Regions from separate parts of the Homo sapiens genome. Here regions 1, 2, 3, 4 and 5 are each linked to region 6. The links are contacts of gene promoters, found by promoter capture Hi-C in blood cells and fetal thymus (Javierre and others, 2016). All regions are on one chromosome and are shown on one strand. Each heading gives the region's core, a stretch centred on a gene start or on the middle of the fragment in contact. The rest is flanking DNA. Distances are from core to core; before and after follow the strand shown. Region 1 overlaps CASP8 (caspase 8). Region 2 overlaps SGO2 (shugoshin 2). Region 3 overlaps CASP10 (caspase 10). Region 4 has its middle 35 kb from the start of CASP8. Region 5 overlaps CASP10 (caspase 10). Region 6 holds the start of BZW1 (basic leucine zipper and W2 domains 1).

What was found. The method cuts DNA at HindIII sites, captures the fragments that hold promoters and counts their contacts. A CHiCAGO score of 5 or more calls a contact.
Region 1: a contact is called between a fragment that was not itself captured here and the fragment with the promoter of BZW1 in region 6, in 1 of 17 cell types (neutrophils). The highest score is 10.0, in neutrophils.
Region 2: a contact is called between a fragment that was not itself captured here and the fragment with the promoter of BZW1 in region 6, in 2 of 17 cell types (erythroblasts and fetal thymus). The highest score is 5.2, in erythroblasts.
Region 3: a contact is called between a fragment that was not itself captured here and the fragment with the promoter of BZW1 in region 6, in 1 of 17 cell types (neutrophils). The highest score is 8.0, in neutrophils.
Region 4: a fragment that was not itself captured here is called in contact with the fragment with the promoter of BZW1 in region 6 in 1 of 17 cell types (neutrophils); the score reaches 6.9 in neutrophils.
Region 5: a contact is called between a fragment that was not itself captured here and the fragment with the promoter of BZW1 in region 6, in 1 of 17 cell types (neutrophils). The highest score is 8.1, in neutrophils.

Annotation. Positions count from the first base shown.
Region 1 is chr2:201,277,415-201,280,114 of GRCh38, reverse strand. The region is part of intron 7 of CASP8 (caspase 8); the gene reads right to left. Among named protein-coding and RNA genes, the nearest start is that of CASP8, 18 kb to the right of the region's middle. The HindIII fragment of the contact is 3,204 bases long and covers 1-2,700 here.
Region 2 is chr2:200,533,306-200,536,005 of GRCh38, reverse strand. It overlaps SGO2 (shugoshin 2), which reads right to left. Exons shown (of 9, transcript NM_152524.6): 3 at 835-1,010. Among named protein-coding and RNA genes, the nearest start is that of SGO2, 8.4 kb to the right of the region's middle. The HindIII fragment of the contact is 963 bases long and covers 769-1,731 here.
Region 3 is chr2:201,184,812-201,187,511 of GRCh38, reverse strand. CASP10 (caspase 10) reads right to left here. Exons shown (of 10, transcript NM_032977.4): 2 at 1,388-1,741. The coding sequence starts at 1,734. Among named protein-coding and RNA genes, the nearest start is that of CASP10, 3.0 kb to the right of the region's middle. The HindIII fragment of the contact is 467 bases long and covers 1,201-1,667 here.
Region 4 is chr2:201,223,989-201,226,688 of GRCh38, reverse strand. It overlaps a transcript of CASP10 not described here. Among named protein-coding and RNA genes, the nearest start is that of CASP8, 35 kb to the left of the region's middle. The HindIII fragment of the contact is 4,030 bases long and covers 1-2,700 here.
Region 5 is chr2:201,201,847-201,204,546 of GRCh38, reverse strand. It overlaps CASP10 (caspase 10), which reads right to left. Exons shown (of 10, transcript NM_032977.4): 6 at 781-817. Among named protein-coding and RNA genes, the nearest start is that of CASP10, 20 kb to the right of the region's middle. The HindIII fragment of the contact is 1,450 bases long and covers 684-2,133 here.
Region 6 is chr2:200,810,547-200,813,246 of GRCh38, reverse strand. BZW1 (basic leucine zipper and W2 domains 1) reads right to left here and starts at 1,337. Exons shown (of 12, transcript NM_001207067.2): 1 at 1,257-1,337; 2 at 1-39. The coding sequence starts at 29. BZW1-AS1 (BZW1 antisense RNA 1) reads left to right here and starts at 1,077. Exons shown (of 4, transcript NR_110275.1): 1 at 1,077-1,462. RefSeq lists enhancers at 1-499, 500-1,015, 1,864-2,123 and silencers at 764-1,133, 1,664-1,813. The HindIII fragment of the contact is 7,792 bases long and covers 1-2,700 here.

The DNA of each region.
Region 1 (2,700 bases), core at 30-2,529, 470 kb before region 6:
TGGACCTTTAACTAACTCTCTAAGAATACTAAATACCAATATTAAGCATTAAAAAAGGTTGCTTTTTTCTCAACATTATCTTTTTTTCATTCATATTCTGTTTCATGTTTTTCTTGTTGTTTGCATTGCCTCTCATTTATCTAGTAATTTATTTATTTATTTGAGATGGAGTCTTGCTCTGTCACCCAGGCTGGAGTGCAGTGGTACGATCTCAGCTCACTGCAACTTCCACCTCCCAGGTTCAAGTGATTCTTCTGCCTCAGCCTCTGTAGTAGCTGGGGTTACAGGCACCTGCCACCATGCCTGGCTAATTTTTGTATTTTTAGTAGAGATGGGGTTTCACCATGTTGGTCAGGCTGGGCTTGAACTCCTGACCTCAGGCGATTCGCCTGCCTCGGCCTCCCAAAGTGCTGGATTTTCACGCCACCGTACCAAGCTACCTCTCTTTCGTATTAGAGCCTTTCTTCAAATGCCTGCTGACCTTTGGTTGTCCATTCATAAATTGACTAATTAGTCCATTAAAAAGTCGACTGAAAGCTCTGTGTTTGTGGATGTGGCTTGTTCTCTGAGGGATTTCATAGCAAGATGATTGGTTGGGGACCTGATCATTTCATTAGGAAACCTCCAGATGTCATTATCTGTATGTATTTTAGCTAGAGCTTTCAGCTTCTCCAGAGGTAAGTCTGTATCTGCTGCCAGTGTCTTGGAACCAAGTTGGTTTAGAGATCTGACTCCATGCCACCAGCAGGTTTTCTTCAGTCTCTCTGTGTTCAGTAAAATGCTTCATTGCTTCCTTTGCTGGGCCTGGCACACCGAAGTGTAGAGCCTCTCTGGTTCAATTTTATGAGAAAACAAACTTCCTGTTCCTTATGATGGTAGAATAAGAATAGTTGCTGGCTCTATGAGAGGAAGGTATGAATCAGAGGATTGTATAGGCTTATATAGGCTTTCAAAGAATCTTCCTGTTTTCTGCTCATTGCCTCACCTACACTTTGTACTTCCAATTGCTGAATTTTTCCAGGATTCTGTGGGGGTAAATAGGCTTGCCTCCTTTCCGTGTTCCCCTCTGTAATCAGTGAGGTTGTAGCTTTCTCTGTTAAGTCAATTACCTCGACTCTTTTTTTTCAACTCCCCCAAATTGTTGGAAACCTTTCATTAGCTATTGTCTCCTTTCCTGTTCTCTTGATCCTTGTTGGATTATTCCTTTTTTATTCCTTCTCCAGCATTTTGTCCCTGTCAGCACATCAGAGCTAAACATAAGTCATCAGTCAAAAGGCAGTCTCAGCCAGGTGCAGTGGCTCACACCTGTAATCCCAGCACTTTGGTAGGCCGAGGCGAGTGGATCACCTGAGGTCAGGAGTTCAAGAACAGCCTGACCAACATGGTGAAACCCCATCTCTACTAAATACAATTAACTGGGTATGGTGGCACATGCCTGTAATCCCAGCTACTTGGGAGGCTGAGGCAGGAGAATCACTTGAACCTGGGAGGCAGAGGTTGCGGTGAGCCAAGATCATGTTATTGCACTGCAGCCTGGGCAACAGAGTGAGACTCTGCCTCAAAAAAAAAAAAAAGAAAAAATACAGTCTAGCATTAGGAATAGAAAAAAATAACTGAAATGCAATAGGCCCTTGTTGATTTGGAAGCACTTTGGCAAGACTAATACAGTGTGTTGGTTCTGTGAAAAAAATTCTGATCCTTTGGAAATGTGGAATGTTGATTAAAAAAATGACTGTAAAGCAAGTCTGAAGGCACTGAAGCAGGACAGAAGGGAGTCTCTCAGGAGAAATGACTTCTGCAGCTGGGTCTCCTACTTTTACTCATTCAGCATAAAACATAAGAACAGGAACAGAAAAAGCAGGACACACAGACTCGAATGCCTACCAGAGACTAGTCAATCATGGGCCAGTTATAAGAAAATGAGCTGCCAGAAATAGAAGCAAATGTTATTTTAATAGAAATGTTTTAATTTTAAAAGAATACAAATCAAGGGTCCAAAATATTTTTTTCAATACCAAGCGCATAGTGACGAATGATGTAATCAATGGACTTAATCTCTGTGCCTTTTTAAAGGCTTAGATTTGCTTAAATAAACAAATCAAATGTTAGCAGGGACCAGGTACAGGTGGCTGACACCTGTAATTCCAGCACTTTGGGAGGCCGAGGCAGGCGGATCACTTGAGGTCAGGAGTTCAAGACCAGCCTGGCCAATATGGCAAAACCCCATCTCTACTAAAAATACAAAAATTAGCCATGTGTGGTGGTGTGTGCCTGTAGTCCCAGCTACTTGGGAGGCTGAGGCAGGAGAATCACTTGAACCAGGGAGGTGGAGGCTGCAGTGAGCTGAGATCACACCACTGCACTCCAGCCTGGGCAACAGAGTGAGACTTTGTCTCAAAAAAAAAAAAAAAATGTTAATAGGGGCCATTACAGACTCCTGATGATTATAATCAGTCTACATTAATTTTCTAAACTTACCTCCATTTGCAAAACAAATCAATAATTGATGTTATGCCTGATAAACACTATTTCCAAAAGTTCTTTGATCAAATCAAAATTATTAATCTCTCAATGGTGATGGATGATTTTTATTTTTTGTTGTTGTAGTCACTTTTTATATTCACATACTACAAATTGTTTTTTCATTTAACTTGTAAGTTCTTGATCTTAGCTTAATTTGGCTGAGCAAAAGAATTGCTA
Region 2 (2,700 bases), core at 1-2,500, 280 kb after region 6:
TCAGGCATTTATGAATGCCATCCATGTGAGAAAACTTAAAAAATAGTTGATATCATATTGAGCTAAAAATTGAGATCACATTCAGCTAAAATGGTATATTATATAGTACCAAATAGTATTATATAGTCCAAATAGTCATACATATCATACATACATACATGTATACACACACACACACATATGTTGAATACTTTAGAACAATTTTGTTTTCCTATAAACATTTTTCTATCTTCTCATAGTAATATATCACATGGCAAGAGAACAGTTTGTCAGCCACCGGAATTAAACCCACAAGTAGAGTAGGTCCTTTTTCCATTATAAAAAGTTCTACTCATTTTAGATTTAGATCTATAGTTGCAGCCTAGCTAATCATTGGCTCTCACTGTCCTGTCTGTGAACAGAGTTGAAATTTGGAAGGAAAAGAAACAACTATAATTCTCATTCTGTTTAGCTTGTAGCCAGGTAAATGCTGAGATTAAAAAAGAATAACAACATTCTGGGAATTCCTTTCCTTTCAAGAACACCGGAAGAACTATGACCATCTTTTAAAAATGTATTAATGTACCAAGCTTTGTTTATGATTAGCAATCGAATGTTGGTCAAAGTATTATACTGGTTTACACAGCACACAAGCACACATTTAGAATGTAGATTTAAAACACATATTTTATTACCCATTAACAGTTTGTACTTTGACATAGACTTACATGGTATACTGACTTTCAATAATTTTTCACTATTGGAGATTTGAAAAATATTTTTAAAGCTTCTATAATAATGCAGCTAAAAGATTTAAGTTATAATTAGAATTCAAAAACAATATAGCTTACATACCAAGTTATTTAGCTTTAGGCGAAGAAATGTGTTCTCAAAATTCAGTTTCTCTACTTCTTTTTGCAATAGCATCTTTTCAGTTGTAATTCTTCGAGAATTCTCTTTTTCTCTACTAAGAGCCTGAGCTAATGCCCTGTTGTTGTGCTTTAAAGATATTTTGAAAATAGAAGAATTATCTGTAAAAAGATTTTTAAAATGAGTTAATATTCAGCTTATACCTTAAGAAATTTTTATATTCCTTAGTAAAACATAGACAAAATGCATTTCACAAGTTTTAACTGAAGATTAGAAAAGGGAATAACAATACAGATGTAGTTTTGAGAAAAATAAACCCAGAGTTTAGAGGTGAGGAAATGAAAGCTAGACAGAAGATGAAGAATTCAAGAGTTGTGAGGAATGCAGAATATGTATAAAAAAGGAGTAAGAGGACTGCAGCACAGACATAGCATTCTACATAATTAGATCAGTCACAAAAATTAAATCTTGATACTTGCTGCTCTACCTAATTTCCTACCTTTGACTAGCAGACAGAATGGAGAAACTGATTCTGCAGCTCTAACTGGAAATGTCCCATAGGAATGAGGGTAGCCAATCTGGGAAAATTCTAAAGCCAGCTTCTACAGCTCCAGAACTGAACAAATTACTTAATACTCCCAACGCCCATTTTTAAACTTTGAGTGATAGAGCCATACTTTCTCTAATGTTAGATAGATAATCTAAACCCCACGGGACCTTTTACTGCCATCTAAAAGATTCTACCTCTTATTTCTAGGCATCTACTGCAATCTAAACTCGACTCCTCTTTAAAAGCACTATGTAAATATGATTTAAATCACGCCTGAAATTGCTTTTCTGTTGGAAGCAAAGAAATTTCATTGTGAATTCCCTGGTAAAGCTTACCATAAATATAGTGTGTTCCCTTAGTACATTTAAAATATCATTATATTTTCATAATTTTAACTTACATTTCACTATTCAATAACATATGCCACTGAATAAAAGTCTAGTGTATGTGAAATAAGTTTTATAAAATTTAATAACATTTTATAAGTACTCAGGGAAAACTTGGGATTCTGCAAAACAGAGTCCAAAACAGTACTTTACCTTTGGCACAGAGAGAGTAGTTTTGGATAGCCATTCTTGGCATAGCAAATGGAAACTGACTACAACAAGCTTAGGATTTCCAGAAGATAAAGAGTAATAACATTTTCCTGTTGTACTCCTCAAAGTCAGCATATTCCTTCATAACAGGGGGTGTGGAATAGTCTTGCCAAAGGGAGTAAGCAAGAGCCAGTGTAAGGAGTGGCCCTAGAGACCTAGGTGGGAGCTGCATCATGATTTACAGGCACCCAGGAGGCTGGGTTGTTTTAGAAGGCACACGTGATTGTCCTTCGCAGGAGCTATATCAGCAGATAATGTGACTAAAAGGATACCTCCCCAACTCCTGCTAAGATGGGTATGAACACTGAGATAATTTTCAGAAGTAATGAAAATTTATCTTGGGGAGTTTTCCCACCTCCTTTTTTTTTTGCCCTTCTGATGCCTTAACTCCAGAATTCATGAAATTCCATTTCCAAAGTGCTCAGTGTCTTCATAAGATTGCCTATATAAAGTCACATGTATACACACACACACACACACACACACACACATATACATTATATATATACACACGTATATATAAGCACCCAGTGTGAGCCCACCTCCTCAAGGCTACCCATCATCCAGTTGCCACAACATGCCAGAACAACCTGCTACTCTTACTACATCTGTTCCAGAAAAGTCATGTTGGTAGTTTTTTTCTGCGCTGTAGAAAGTAGCTGTCTTGGGTCACTGCAGCCTCACTGCTGAAAATTCAACTGTGTC
Region 3 (2,700 bases), core at 185-2,684, 370 kb before region 6:
AGTAAGTGGTAGAAGCAGGCCTTCTGACTCCAAGTCTAATGCTGTTTTTCACCACACTAAGAAGGCATATTTAAAAAAAAAAAGGCATAAAACACAATTCTGACATGCCTTCCCATCTCCTGATTCCATCAAGAAATTCAGGCTTACTTTACAGGCCCTTGGTAGATAGGACCCCAGGCCAGCCAAGGTACAGTCGGTTGTATATTGAAAAGGGAAGAAAACTACCCCAGCTTCGAGATATAATCCACAACCAGAAACAGTGAGGATTTCATCCACATACTAACACCCCTATGTGTCAGAGACTGTCCCTCAGATGTTTAGCCAGCAGAATGGAAATATGGATTTCTGGAATTCATCATTCCTTCCACTGACTCAAGGGCAACTCAGGTTCTGGAAGCCAGTTCCACCGCTAAGGCTTAATGTGTTCTAATCGCAGAGACCATAAAACACCCTCCAAAGGCTCCTCTTCGTGAGGTTCTCTGATGTGGACACTATGTCAGTGAACAATTTTAAACACTGTCATCAGCCTGGCACAGTGGCTCACACCTATAATCCCAGCACTTTGGGAGGCCGAGGTGCGTGGATCACTTGAGGCTAGGAGTTCCAGACCAGCCTGGCCAACATGTTGGAAACCCTGTCTCTACTAAAAATACAAAAATTAGCCAGGTGTGGTGGTGGGTGCCTGTAGTCCCAGCTACTCAGGAGGCTGAGGCAGGAGAATCGCTCGAACCCAGGAAGCGGAGGTTGCAGTGAGCTGAGATGGTGCCACTTCACTCCAGCCTGAGTGACAGAGCGAGACTCTGTCTCAAAATAAAAATAAAACGCTGTCATCCATGATAAGACCAATGCCTAAATTTTACCTCTTTGGGCAAAATGCCTGTTTTTACCTTTCTGGATTCCCACCCAAAAATATAGAAATTTCTATAACTAGACATGGCATAAATGACATCCCTCCCTACCCCAGAAACACATCTCTTTTTTCATCTTGCTTATTTCACTCCAAGTATGCATTACTCTCTTCTCAAGACCCCGGGAAACAGGTAGACAGACTAGTGGATCCCAGGAGGGAGAAGATCTGCACGTGTAGCCGCTGGTAAGCAGGGAAAACACGGGCTCTGCCACACTGAGGTGGGCTTCACTGCTAGTGAGAAGCAAAACAAAGGGAAGCCACCTCTGGGCCCAGGGCTTGGTCTTGAAGCTTTGCTGACCTCCCAACTCTTATCTCATTAGCATCAGAGGCTGAGAAGGAGGTTTAGAATCTCCTGGTTTATCATCCAAGGAGGTAGATAACCAAAAGATCTTAACTGCAGCTTCCTTTCAAAGCCCAATGGCCAGAATGAACACTAGATGGGAGATCCTCCCATCTCCACCACAGACCCGTCCTCACCTAAACAGAGAAACCCTTTGTCGGGTGGGCAGCAGTCGCTCCACTTCCTCTTTGGTACAGTTGAGGTGCTGCAGCAGCTTCTTCTGCCGTATGATATAGAGGAGTTCTGCCAGGAAGAAAGGGTCTTCCTCACTCAGCAGATCCTCTGCCAAGAGATGTTCAAAAACATCTGAGGCTGAGCTGGACTTCTCCAGCTTCTTGTTGGGGACCAATCCTATGCAGAGAAACTTGAGGTTCTCCACATCTTGGACCCCCAGGTTTGAATCAATAATCAGAAGCTTCTCACGAAAGCTCACTTTACAGTTTTTATCTGAACTGGAATACCAATGTTGACCTTGAGATTTCATGGCCAGCCTGAAAGGGACAGAGAGGTGGGGCAGGGAGTTAGAGAGTGAGGACATATGGCCCCCTGACTTCCCAGGCCCTCCCCTCACCACAACCTTCTCCGTTCTGGGCATTAGACTTTCCTAGAAGTGCTGAAAAATAAAAATTACGGCGAGGCTACTTCAAAAAGCAACAGCCCAGAAAACTTTTCCCCAACACTTGCAAGTTACTTTTTAGGAAACTTGGAGGGTGCTTATATTGGAATTCAATTCACCTTGATTTCTCCCAAATCAAAATGTTCCCAGAGAGAGAAAGTTAAGATGGAGGGACACAGCACAATTTTTCTCAAGCCTGGTAGCCTGATTGGAGCCCTTACATTCATTTCCAGCACGTGGCAGAAATAGCACTTGGCTCTATGCTTTAAGTTTTAGACACAAAGCAATCTGGGGGAGGCAGGGTTATCCTTATGATCTATCAACCCAAAGACAGCAAGGTACCGTGAGGTATGTGTGTTACATCTTAACTTCAGACTGCTACCTGTAAGAGGGCAGGCCTTTATCTTACAGAAAGGGAAGGCATAATCCTAGACCTCAAGCCTGAGCAACATGGCGAGACCTGGTCTCTACTAAAAATACAAAAAATTATCAGGGCATGGTGGCACATGCCTGTGGTCCCAACTACTCAGGAGGCCGAGGATGGAAGGATCATTTGAGCCTGGGGAGCACAGGTTGCAGTGAGCCATGATCATGCCACTGCACTTCACCCTGGGTGACAGAGTGAGACCCTGTTTCAAAAAGAAAAATAAATAAATAAAATATCCTAGACCTCAGGAGGAAAGGGTGGTTTTAGACAAGAGTTGCTCAAATCAGTGTAGGAAGTTAAAAATTACATGAGTCGGCTGCTCTGTCTATGGAGTAGCCATTCTTTTGTTTCTTTACTTCTCTAATAAACTTGTTTTCACTAAAAAAAAACAAATTACATGAGTCAAT
Region 4 (2,700 bases), core at 166-2,665, 410 kb before region 6:
ACTTTTACAAACAATGCTGCTCAGAAAACTAACACTTCCTCCTTATCTCCTGGTACCTGTGCAAGATTTCTTTTGGGGCCAGGCGTGGTGGCTCACGCCTATAATTTCAATACTTTGGGAGGCTGAGGCAGGAAGATTGCTTGAGGCCAGGAGTTCAAGACCTTCCTGCACAACATAACAAGACCCTGTCTCTACAAAACAATGTTTTTAAGTTTATTTTGGGACATAGATCCAAAAATGGAATTGCTAGATTTTACTGTGTGCAAATTTCCAACATTTATAAATATTGCAAATTGCTCTCTAAAATGATTGTGTCAATTTACATTTCCTAGATCGATGTAATAGAGTTCCCTTTGCTCTGTATCTTCACCCACACTTGGTACTGACAGAGTTTTAAATGTTGATAATATGATGGACATAAAATGCTATCTCACTGTGGCTGTATTTTTCAAATTCTCTGATGACCAAAGAGAATGGTTATGTTTTCATATATTTATTGCTCATTGGTATTTCCTTTTAATTACTGGTTCATATTTTTTGCTCATCTTTGAACTAGTTTATATTTTTGCCCATCTAGGTTGGATTGTTTAATATTTTATGGATTTATAGAAGATTATATATATAGTATATGTACATATATCTCCTTTATCAGTTATACAACGTGGCAGATATCATTTCCCAGTTTGTGGCTCATCCCTCAGGTTTTGTTTTTGTTTTTGTTTTGAGACAGAGTCTCACTCTATCACCCAGGCTGGAGTGCAGTGGCATGATCTTGGCTCACTGCAACCTCCACCTGCCAGAGTCAAGCAATTCTCATGCCCCAGCCTCCCATGTAGCTAGGATCACAGGTGTGCGCCACCATGCCCAGCTAATTTTTTTTAGTACAGACAGGTTTCACCAAGTTGGCCAGGCTGGTCTTGAACTCCTGACCTCAGGTGATCCGCCTGCCTCGGCCTCCCAAAGTTCTGGGATTACAGGCGCGAGCCACCACACCCCGGCCTCATCCTTCAATTTTTAAATGTTGTTTTTGATGTTTTAAAATAGTCAAGAGGCAAGTGTTTCTTCTTAAATTCACAAATGACAGCTCCATAGTGGGTTATCAAGAGAAAAGGTGGGGCTTCTCAGGAAATATCTCTAACCTTTTAGGTTGAGATCATAGAGAATTCGATGATTAGTAAAACAGACCGAGAGTGCAAAAGGGTGATATAACCAGGGAAATGTCACAGCATTGCCGAAACCCCTGAAAGCCCATTGGAGGTTTGTGGTCATTGGTTTGAAACGAGACCTGTCTGCAACATGGAAGGTTTTTACCCCAGCCACATCCTGGAATTCCAGTACAAATTTGGAGGACAAGGATTTATAGGATTAACCAGAGTTGGGATTCTACCACCTCAGTGGAACTGACAGAAAGGCAAGGGTGTTGGTGGGTACAGGAGACTTTAACAAAGACACATGGACTCTAAGCTGAATGAAGAGGGAGTGAGGGGCGGTGCTGACATCGGGAAGACAATAGATAGGGTCAGTCAACCTAACTGGAAGCCCTGGTGGCACTGAAGATCCTTGAAGGGAAGGTCCTAGAAGAAGCAAGATGGAATGATGGGAGGTGGTTGTCAGAGAGGGACATGCTTGGAATTGAAACGTGAGTGAAAGTACAGATGGTAGTAATGACAAAGTTTACTGGATGCATGATTGGGGGGACATGGAGGATACACTCATTGAAAAAGGGTGGGGAAAAATCTGTGACAAACACAGAGTGAATAATGGGAAAATACATAGCAAAATAGAATTATAAATAAATATACTTTTTTCTTGGTGTGTTTTTGTATTTCCCAAATATTCCATAATGAACATACATTACTATGTAATCAGAAAAAAGTTATCAAATAAAATTCCCTTATTTATTAGTAAGTCCATTTCTACTATTTACCAGTACTCAGCTCAAAATCTCACAAAGTTATTTCCATTCTAGAATTTCACCAGTATTTCCCAGGCATTTTACAGAATCACTTAAAATGAGACCTACTGAGACATGTAAGTTTCACAGCATATGTTCTTTCTTCCAAGAAATACCTGTCTGAAATATGTATGCAGAAGTGGGGAGGACTGGGTATACAGTGGACAGAACTGGGGGCAAAACTCTTCTTGAACACCTTTAATTTTCTTATCTTCAAACCATACAAATATCTTTATAAAAATATTACCTACTCAAAATTACTTAAAAAGTAAAAATTAGTACAATTTAAAATTTTTAATTTAAAAATCTTTTCATAAAAATTCAGATTTGCAAAAGTTATGTTAGGAAATAAACAGTTGTTTGCATTGCCAAATAAGTAAATCTTTAAACACAGAATTTCCTCTAGTGCTTTTTAAAAGGGATTTCATTTTTTTTCTAATGTATTAAGAGTTCCATTTTTTTTTGGCCAGGCACGGTGGCTCACGCTTGTAATCCCAGCACTTTGGAAGGCCAAGGCGGGCGGATCACGAGGTCAGGAGATTGAGACCATCCTGGCTAACATGGTGAAACCCTGTCTCTACTAAAAATATAAAAAATTAGCTGGGCGTGGTAGCGGGCGCCCATAGTCCCAGCTACTCGGGAGGCTGAGGCAGGAGAATGGCATGAACCTGGGAGGCAGAGCTTGCAGTGAGCCAAGATCGAGCCACTGCACTCCAGCCTGGGCAACATAGCAAGACTCCGTCTCA
Region 5 (2,700 bases), core at 159-2,658, 390 kb before region 6:
GTGAATGGAGGAATAAATGATATAATCCCTGAAATCTCTCTGAACAGTGCCTAGTATGTGACAAGTGCTTAATAATGGTGACCTGGTCAATGTCACCAACATCATAGCACACAACCTCCGTGTTAGGCAAAAAGACAAATTGCTAGCAAAGCTGTGTGTCTTGGACTCTGAAGGATAATTTTCCAGAAAAAAAAATGAGGAATGGTCTGTGACAAACTTTACATACCACAGAAAGACTTCGCCAAAGCCTGTTTGTTCATAAGCAGTTTAACCTGATGGCAGATTCTGGAATATTTTCCTAAGGTTATGGTTTCTGGGCAGGGATTCAGGGAACTAAACACACCATCCTCAAGTCCCTCCTCTTGCTTCTTCTCTCCCTCTGAAGCAACATCTGGAACCACTCCATAGAGGACACGCACCCAGACTGCACATTCTGCTGTCACTACTGGCCTGAAGGCTTCAGCCCTGCGGGGGCTGTTTCTGCTGCACAGAGGGTGGCCTAATTCTGAAGGGTGGAGGAAGAACAGCCGCCTGCAGTCCCTAGAATCTGCTATACTAGGCATTCAGAGCAGAAACCACCCAGCCCTCTCCATACTGCCATAGAAAAGCCTAGTACAATCCATGCATTCAATGTCTTGCCTTGAATTGGAATAAAAAATGAATTATTCATTATTTATAAAGCTTCTCTTCCAAGTCACCTTGAATTCCTTGGTATATATCAAATATGTCTATCCCTACCATACCGATCTAAGTTGTAAAAAGTACATTAGAAATACCTACCATTACTACCTGCATGCTTATTTTGCCAGGACTCCTGCTGAGAAAAAAGAAAGGAGGGCATGAAACATAGGAATTTCACACAGTTAGGATGAGGAACAAAAACTAGACTTGATGCAGGGAAGGACAGATATCTAATCCACAGCCACAGAAAAGGTCATTGGGCCGGTTGCGGTGGCTCATGCCTGTAATCCCAGCACTTTGGGAGGCCAAGGCAGGTGGATCACCTGAGGTCAGGAGTTCGAGACCAGCCTGACTAACATGGTGAAACCCCACCTCTACTAAAAATAAAAAAATTAGCCGGGTGTGGTAGCGCATGCCAGTAATCCCAGCTACTCAGGAGGCTGAGGCAGGAGAATCACTTGAACCTGGGAGGCAGAGGTTGCAGTGGGCCGAGATTGCGCAACTGCACTCCAGCCTGGGTGACAGAGCAAGACTCTGTCTCAAAAAAAAAAAAAAAAGAAAGTTCATTGGCAGGAAATGGGAAGAGAACCAACTCTCTCCATCCAAAGGAGAAGGTTCACAAAGACGCACTGGCAAAAATACAGTGTGACATATGCTCAAGGGTACTTACTCATTGCAGCATTATTTACACTAAGGACTGGAAATAGCCTAATGTCCACCAATAGGAAGTGATTGAAAAAGCTGTGGTATGTCCACATAGTGGAGTAAGATGCCAAGGACAGCCTCTATACCCTTCTCCAGGGGATGCTGTCATATGGAGAAAGCAAAATGAAATGGTATTTGAGTGCACTACCTCTTTTGTAATAAAGGGAAGATATACGTTGGATTTTTTTCAAAAGTAATAAGATAAATCAAAAAACAAATAAAAATGGCAATCGAGGTGGGGAGGAGAGGCAAGGATGCACTACCTTGGGCATACATTAATGTTTTATATAATTAAATACAAAATTAAAACAAAGTCTAAGACCCTGTCTTTTCTGTACCCTCCTCCCCATTCACCATCACCCCCTTCCCCCTATGACTCTCAGCCGTCAGCCTTCAGCAGAAAGCCCCCAAGGGGACCTGACCAAGGTGTTGGGGAAGAGCTGTTCCCCCAGCTCTGCAGGAACAAATGCAAAGGAGGCTTAGCTTCACTTTCCAAAAGGCTTCCTGCCTTTCTTTTCATAAGCCACTGTTCCCTTCCTGTAGAATCCTAGATTTCTTCTAAGAGGCAGACAAGGGCCTGGCCAGACTGCCTTCTGGTTTTGTCCAGCAGTTGAGTGAGTCTTCTGGGATTAGGGGCAATGCAGACACAGCAGCAGGCTCTGCCCAGCCCCTCCAGGCCCTGGCTTTCCTTGATTTGTTCTTCCCTTGGCTGATAAAGTCAGCCAGAACAGGGACTAGAAAAAAGCTTTAAGGTCTAATCTGCCTTTCTTCTCCCGAGAATGTTGCATCCTCTGTTGACACCTCTCAAGTCTCTATGTCAGAGAGGAATGAATGAATGAATGAGTGAATGTCCCACAGCCTGGCCACACTGAATCATCTTTCAACTTCTTTTGATAGTTTTCAAGAGGGGTCCAATAAGGCCTTATAAAGAAGCAGGTGTTAGGTCTCCTCCATAGAGAGACATGCCTCTCCTTAAGAAAACCTTATGCCACACTCAAAAAAATCGATTTGGCCGGGTACGGTGGCTCACGCCTGTAATCCCAGCACTTTGGGAGCTGAAGCAGGTGGATCACCTGAGGTCAGGAGTTCGAGACCAGCCTGGCCAACATGGCGAAACCCCATCTCTACTAAAAATACAAAAAATTTGCTGGGTGCGGTGGCACGTGCCTGTAATCCCAGCTACTCAGGAGGCTGAGGCAGGAAAATCACTTGAACCTGGGAGGCTGAAGTTGCAGGGGGCTGAGAAAAAAATAAATTTAATTTTTAAACATATTAGGAGATGTTGCTTAAAATTCGATGAGAGTTCCTTCTCAT
Region 6 (2,700 bases), core at 88-2,587:
GTTGGCTTTTGCTGCTTTTGATTATTCATAAAAGACACCCTAGGAAAGGAGAAATAAAGCCTTAATATCAGTGCCATAATACTAATTTTTAAAGCAAAACATCAAACCTTAGTCTAGTCACATATGAATCAAATGGAACACCCACTCTCAGGATATAAAGCTGGCAATTATACCCGATACAGGCACAAAGAATTACCTGCACTTGAATCAAATGTACGTCAAAATGTGCATTTCTCTCTACAAGAAACCCTTCAAATTAGTGCTGTGAACTACTTTTAAGCGACATTGTAGTGCTACAGTGATCACCCGTCATAAACCTAATTGTTCAGTTTTCTCCACATTCCTCTTTACATTCACTTACATCTTCCACGACCACTAAGCATCGCAGAACGCAAAGAGAGATTATCACCATAGTCAGCAGGCATCCAAAATGTGTATGCCAATTCTAAAACACTGTCAAAAGGTGAACCCCTTCTTCTGACAAGCCTGGTTACGGGCAGCACCATCCTACCCTAGGTCATGCCTGTGACCGCAACAGCGGCCGCCTTGCACCACTCAGGCCTGCAAAACTAACAGCCAGCCCAGCCTCCTTCGCCCATATCCCACAGTCCTAGCCTCCTCCCCGGTAACGTGTCTCCCAATCCACACCCTTCCCATGCCTCCCGCCCGAGCCACAGATCACCCGCTTCCCGCCCAGGACCCCATCGGCCACAGCGGGGCGCCGTAGGGTCCCGCGGCTCTTTCTCCACTGACCCTGTCGCCTGCGGTGGCGGCCGCCGCAACGAGCGGACCACAGTCACTGAGGCGCTTTGCGCCGGGGCCCCAGGCGCCCCGTACATCCGCCCGCCCTCCAGCGAAAGCAGCGGCGGAGGCGGCGGCCGCAGCGGTGGTGGGTGGCAGCCCCTCCGCCCCGCCCGCCGGAAGCCCCCACGCGTACATCACACAACAGAGGCCGCGGCGGCTTTGTTAGCCAGGCCGGGCACGGCCCAGAGGGAGCCCGCCTCGGCCACTGCCTTCGCAGCCAGCGCCGCGGCGCACACCCGGACCCCACCTCCCCACCCGGGCCGCCGCTACCCCTCGGCCTCCCTGCCGAAGCGGCGGCCTTTCAGGCCCTAGATCCGGCCCGGCCTCAAGAGGCGACCTCCGTTCGGGCCCATCCAAGCCGGGCCGCATCCAGCCCGCCGCCTCCCTCTCCCTCTGCCCGGCGTCCACGACCCGCAGCGTCCGCCCGGGGTGAGCGGGGCGCCGCGTCTCACCGAATTTAAGGCGAAGAGGAAAGAGCCAGAAATCCCCGATGTACCGGCAACTGCGGCGGTGTCTCCTCTGCGACCGGAACTAACGCCAGGAGGAGGGAGAGGTGCCACCCCCGCCCGGACCGCTCTCCTATCGCGAGATTTCTTCCCCTTGCCCCGCCCTGATCGTGGACAGGCGCTTCCGCCTTTTCTATTGCGCGCGGATTAGGGTGAGGGACTGGGATAGGGGAGGGGAGAGACGTTTCCAGTCTTCTTTATTCCCTTACTGGGTTCCACGTCGCCTGGACACTTGTCCTAGACTAGCTTATTTTTCTTCCCCCGCTGCGTCGTCCGCCCTCTTCACACATGGAGGGGTTGGAAGAGCGGAGCCGGCCCCCGCCGGTCTCGAAGTTGGACGCGTCCTCCTGGAGTCCCTCGCCGCCGGCCCCCTCCTCCAGCACCGGAAGTCGAAGCCCGAGGGCGGGGGGCCCTCGGGTCGTGCGGGGGCGGAGGCTGGGGGCGGGCATGGGGGCGTGGTTTGGGGAAGGAATCCGCACCTCGCCTCCGCCCTGGCCGGGATGGGCGGAGTTCGCTCCAGCTGAGTCCCCTGCCTGGCGACTTTTCTCTGAGGGGCTGTCTCATTGTTCACTACCTCCCTTAAGAGCGAAGAGGACACAGGCCGAAGATTGAGAAGGGGAAATTCTGTCCTCCAACCGCGGTCCCTGCGCGCTGCAGCGGTTGTCTCCCGAGTGTGGTGGCTATGGGGACTTGGAGAGCATCAGAATCCCTTGGAGGACTTGTTATAACAGACTGCTGGGCCCCACCCGTAGTTTCTCATTCTGTAGGCCTGGTGTGGAACCCATGAATGTGCATTTCCAACAAGTTATCTGTGATGCTGCTGCTGGTCCGCACCTTGAGAACCCCTCAGTTAGAGGCTATATCATCAGGGAGCTGGGGTACGATCAGATTAGATAGTGCGTGTGAAAAGCACTGTGGACGTGACAAAACTCTGTGCAGATAAAGATGCACAGCGCCTCTAGGATGTAGCCCCATGTTTTTATTCACTGTACAGTAGTTTACTTCTCTCCAGTTGCTTCCTCACTCTCTGGTAGGAGGAGAGTGGCTTCTCTTCCCTAAACCTTTTGATAAAATAGTTTGTTGACTTCTTTTCCCTAATTAACTATCTGACCTCTACCCCACCCCCCCGCAACTTCATGGAAAAATGACTTTCTCAGCGTTCGTTCCTGAAATTATTGCCAAACCCAGTGTTTTATTCTTCACCCTGTTTGCCTCCTCTGAGCATTGAATGTTACCTACCTCTCTCCTTGAATCCTGGCTCCAGCTATCCTGGTTACGTTCTGAATGTGCCTTTGCACGGTATTTTCTGACTCTTCTTTTCTGTACTGATACCTTTTCTTTCTGGATACTTTCTTCTATGGCAGTCTCATACATTCTCAAGGATTTAACA